Linked DNA regions of Homo sapiens: region 1 is linked to region 2. Evidence: promoter capture Hi-C in human tissues and cell types (Jung and others, 2019). All regions are on one chromosome and are shown on one strand. The core of a region is centred on a gene start or on the middle of the fragment in contact, and the rest is flanking DNA. Distances in the headings are between cores, read along the strand shown.

The links. The method cuts DNA at HindIII sites, captures the fragments that hold promoters and counts their contacts. A contact is called where the count stands out against the background at its distance.
Region 1: a contact is called between a fragment that was not itself captured here and the fragment with the promoter of NDN in region 2, in 4 of the 25 tissues and cell types used here (H1 embryonic stem cells, mesenchymal stem cells, mesendoderm cells and 1 more).

What each region holds. Positions count from the first base shown.
Region 1 is chr15:23,961,454-23,964,153 of GRCh38, reverse strand. The region is part of intron 1 of LOC107984787 (a long non-coding RNA gene); the gene reads right to left. Among named protein-coding and RNA genes, the nearest start is that of PWRN4, 12 kb to the left of the region's middle. The HindIII fragment of the contact is 7,761 bases long and covers 1-2,700 here.
Region 2 is chr15:23,685,907-23,688,606 of GRCh38, reverse strand. It overlaps NDN (necdin, MAGE family member), which reads left to right and starts at 1,302. Exons shown (of 1, transcript NM_002487.3): 1 at 1,302-2,700. The coding sequence starts at 1,390. The coding sequence ends at 2,355. The HindIII fragment of the contact is 8,447 bases long and covers 1-2,700 here.

The DNA of each region.
Region 1 (2,700 bases), core at 127-2,626, 280 kb before region 2:
AAAATCAGACACTATGCATATTTAAGTAAATGAATAAATCCTATATAATTTTATAACACAAAGGATAAACATAAAAGTATACAAAAGGTAAACATAAAAGTATATAAACTAAAAACCTTATTTATCACCTTATTTATAAACTTTAAACTTATTTATCAACTAAAAACCTTATTTTGGCAAGTTAAAAAAATCAGCAAAAAAATGAATAATCCCATTAAAAAGTGGGCAAATGAACAGGTATCTTTCAAAAGATGACTTGTAAGTGATCAAAAACATACGAAAAAATGCTGAATGTCAGTATCAGGGAATGCAAATTAAAATCATAAGATATCACCTTACCCTAGTCAGAATGGCCATTATTCAACAGTCAATAAATAATAGCTATTGGTGAAGATAAGGTGAAAAGGGAATGTGCTTATACACCCTTGGTGGGAATGTAAATTAGTACAACCTGTATGGTAAACAGTATGAAGATTTCTCAATGAACTAAAAGCAGATCTAATATCCAATCCAGAAATCCCATTACTGGGTATACACTCGAATGAAAAGAAGTCAATATATCAAAAAGACATCTACACTTCTAGGTTAATCACAATAGATTTCACAACTGCAAAAATATTAAATGAATCTAAGTGCCCATCAACAAGCAGATAAAGTAAATGTGGTATATATGCATCACAAAATACATATATCACAAAATACATATATCACAAAATACATATATCACAAAATGAATATCACAAAATATATATCAATATATATCACAAAATATATATATCACTATACCACAAAATACTACTCAGCCATGTAAAAGAACAAAATAAAGTCTTTTGCAGCAATTTGGATGGAACTGGAGGCCATTATCCTAAGGGAAGTAACTCAGGAACAGAAAAACACTGCAGATTATCACTTATAAATGGGAGATAAGTTATGAATAAACATGTTTAATACTATGTTTTTCATAATATGGATAAACATGTTTAATACTATGCTTGAGAAGAAAATCAACACAGTTAACCTGGAGCAACTTGTAGTGCCACCAAGAAAGAAAAAGTGAATCAATAATACAACCAAATATACGAACAAAATCAAAGTGGGATCATGGACATTAGACTCAGAAAGGAGAAGGGTTAGCGGGGAGTGAGAAATGAAAAATCACCCATTGTGTCCGGAGTTGGTTCCTGCCTGTGGGTTCGTGGTCCCGCTGACTTCACAGCCGGGAACCCTCAGCAGTCGACCTTCGCAGTGAGTGTTATAGCTCTTAAAGATGGCACCGACTCAGCAGCGGACCTTCCCAGTGAGTGTTACAGCTCTTAAAGATGGCACGGACCCAAACAACAAGAGGTAGCAAGGTTAACAGTGAAGAGCAAAAACACAAAGCTTCCACACCCTCGAAAAGGACCGGACCAGCTTGCGGCTGCTGGGAGGAGGCCATTGTTTATTCCCGTATTGTCCCCTCCCATGTTCCGTTTCTGTCCTATCAGAGTGCCCTTTTTTCAATCCTCCCCACTATTGGCTACTTTTAGAATCCTGCTGATTGGTGCGTTTTACAGAGCACTGATTGGTGCATTTTACAGAGCGGTGATTGGTGCGTTTTACAAACCTCTTGCAAGACACAAAAGTTCCTGATTGGTGCATTTTACAATCCTCTTGTAAGAAAAGTTCCCCAAGTCCCCACTTGACCCAGGAAGTCCAGCTGGCTTCACCTCTCACTATGAGGTAAAATATACACTCTTCAGGTCACAGGTACACTAAAAACCCCAGACTTCACTACTATACAATTCATTCATGCAACCCAAAACCACTTATAATCCTAAACCTACAATTTTTTTTAAAAAGCAGTGGTGCATGATTCCCCCACTTTTAAGTGTGTGTTGTATATAGTGACTTTTTTTCATGCATACAACATGAAAAGGGGGGAAAGGAGTAATTTTTTTTTTTTTTTTTTTTTGAGACGGAGTCTCGCTCTGTCGCCCAGGCTGGAGTGCAGTGGCGGGATCTCGGCTCACTGCAAGCTCCGTCTCCCGGGTTCACGCCATTCTCCTGCCTCAGCCTCCCAAGTAGCTGGGACTACAGGCGCCCGCCACTACGCCCGGCTAATTTTTTGTATTTTTAGTAGAGACGGGGTTTCACCGTTTTAGCCGGGATGGTCTCGATCTCCTGACCTCGTGATCCGCCCGCCTCGGCCTCCCAAAGTGCTGGGATTACAGGCGTGAGCCACCACGCCCGGCCGGAGTAATTTTACAAAAGAGACTTGTTAGTAACTACCTCATCCAGGTTATCAAATTAACATCAACAGTGATTAAAGCCAGTTGATACCCTGTGCCCGGGATATTATGTGATGAGAATGGCACATTTCCTCTGTGATCTTCCTCCCCTAAACCCACAAATCCAGTCTCTTCATGAGAGAAACATCAGGGAAACCACAAATTAGAAATGTCAATCCCATCAAAAACAATAAAACTCTGAGATATTATCACATTCAGAAGATCCTAAAAATACATGATACCTAAATGTCATGAGGTATCCTGGATGAGATCCTAAAACGTAAACATAACATTAAGTGACAACTAAGAAATCTGAATAAAGTGTAGATGGTACTTAATGATAATCCATGATATTGGCTGGTTAATTTGACAAATGTCCCACACTAATGTACAAGGTAAATAATAAGGGACACTGTGTGTGGGGTATGTTGGA
Region 2 (2,700 bases), core at 53-2,552:
AACCCAAAGAGAGAAAGCACAGAAAACCTTTCAACATCAACCTGCTTGAGGAAAAATAAAGTGGGAAAAGATACATACTCACAGTGAGGACTCTAGACATGTCAAGACAATTTTTAAATATGCTTTTGGCTTCGAGTGGCAATAACTAGATTCAAGACAGCATATTTAAGAAGCTGCTGATGAGAAGAAACCCGGGAAGAGCTGAAGGACCACATCAGCCCAGACCAAGGATGCTGAAGCAGCATTAAGGTCCCTGGTTTCAGATGCTCAGGCAATGACCCTTTTTTTCATGGAGAGCCTGTAGGAGTGACAGTTTTGTCTTTGCCCACTGGGAATCTGTTTTCCATACCTGGAAAACAGGGTTACCTATGTTTCCCCTGCTACCCTTTGGTCATCTCAGAGACACTACCAGATATTACCCATGGGACCTATTTTTTTTTTAAATCTCAGGAAAGACTTGGGTGTGGCTTCCAACGTGGAGGACTCAGTAGCTTCAGAGAGGGTCCTGAGAGAAGGTGAATTGAAGAATGAGGGTGCTGGGCAGAGGGAAAAGACATTATCATACAAGTTTGTGCTAAAAGATATAGCAATCCTTCTGCTATGGACTAAGTATGGAAAAAAATAAAATGGAATCAAAGTTACCCAAAGGAAGTGTAAAACCCAAATTTATGCCCGTTAAAGCATTAATGATGCTCTAAGTCCACTGCCTACTTAAAAAGTTCATAGTTCACATGGGTTGATAGGAAATTACGTTAACGACACACTGCATTTCCCCTTTTCTTATAGCCTATCTGATTTGGTAGGGAGTCGATCATTTTTTATTGGAATTTCTCAGGATTCCAACCTCAGACATCCACTTTACAGTTTACACATTTTCTTGGACAAGCCCGACTGTTCCTCTCACTGGTTCGCATAAAGCTCATGTTTACAAAGCCGCCCAGACCTTTCTCTGGGACTCTCATATTTAACTTAATTCTGGATATACCCAGGTAAGCGTTTCCCAAGAAACTTGACCCCAACATCCCAAAAACTTAAGGTATCTTTCCCTTAAACTGGCCCCTTCTCCAGTACGCATCCATCTCACTTCTCTCCTGCCCTAGATCTTCTCAGCCCAAACAGGAAACCCCGGGATCGCTCTCCCAGCAGGTGAAGCCTCGCCATGGACCCTCCCCGTCGGGGCCCCGCGCTGCCCCGCCCGCCCCCAGCCGCTGGCCAAGGCCGCGGTCGCGCAGGCGCAGTGCCGCGTCCCGCCGCCGCCCCGCCCTGCCCGTCGCTGCGGAAGGCGCCGCGCGCAGCAACGCGCACTTCCTCTCCAGGAATCCGCGGAGGGAGCGCAGGCTCGAAGAGCTCCTGGACGCAGAGGCCCTGCCCTTGCCAGACGGCGCAGACATGTCAGAACAAAGTAAGGATCTGAGCGACCCTAACTTTGCAGCCGAGGCCCCCAACTCCGAGGTGCACAGCAGCCCTGGGGTTTCGGAGGGGGTTCCTCCGTCCGCGACCCTGGCAGAGCCGCAGAGCCCTCCTCTAGGCCCGACGGCCGCTCCGCAGGCCGCGCCGCCTCCCCAGGCCCCGAACGACGAGGGCGACCCGAAGGCCCTGCAGCAGGCTGCGGAGGAGGGCCGCGCCCACCAGGCCCCGAGCGCGGCCCAGCCGGGCCCGGCACCGCCAGCCCCGGCGCAGCTGGTGCAGAAGGCGCACGAGCTCATGTGGTACGTGCTGGTCAAGGACCAGAAGAAGATGATCATCTGGTTTCCAGACATGGTGAAAGATGTCATCGGCAGCTACAAGAAGTGGTGCAGGAGCATCCTCCGGCGCACCAGCCTCATCCTCGCCCGGGTGTTCGGGCTGCACCTGAGGCTAACCAGCCTGCACACCATGGAGTTTGCGCTGGTCAAAGCGCTGGAGCCCGAGGAGCTGGACAGGGTGGCGCTGAGCAACCGCATGCCCATGACAGGCCTCCTGCTCATGATCCTGAGCCTCATCTACGTGAAGGGCCGCGGCGCCAGAGAGAGCGCCGTCTGGAACGTGCTGCGCATCCTGGGGCTGCGGCCCTGGAAGAAGCACTCCACCTTCGGGGACGTGCGGAAGCTCATCACTGAGGAGTTCGTCCAAATGAATTACCTGAAGTACCAGCGCGTCCCATACGTGGAGCCGCCCGAATACGAGTTCTTTTGGGGCTCCCGGGCCAGCCGCGAAATCACCAAGATGCAAATCATGGAGTTCCTGGCCAGGGTCTTTAAGAAAGACCCCCAGGCCTGGCCCTCCCGATACAGAGAAGCTCTGGAGGAGGCCAGAGCTCTGCGGGAGGCTAATCCCACTGCCCACTACCCTCGCAGCAGTGTCTCTGAGGACTAGCAAAGTCTGGAGGCAGATGAATGGTTTCTGACCCTCACCAGGGCTGTGGAAGGGTGGGGGTGGGTCATTATAGTATTCAGGATTTACAGTGCAGTATTCACGTGTAACTTTTAAGTTTTCAGTACAGTGCTTTTATACCTTTAATGCAATGTTGTATTCATTTGGGTACTATTGTGTAGTATTTAGGATGTATGCATGTTTGTTTATATGTAAGCTTGGTTGGTGCTTTCGCTTTTGTGCTACCTTTCTTGGATTTTTGTACCAGAGATGTGCTAAACTGATGAAATACATTGAGAAAGTTTCCATCTTATTCTTTTATATGGGACTGATGATGTGTGTTGGGGT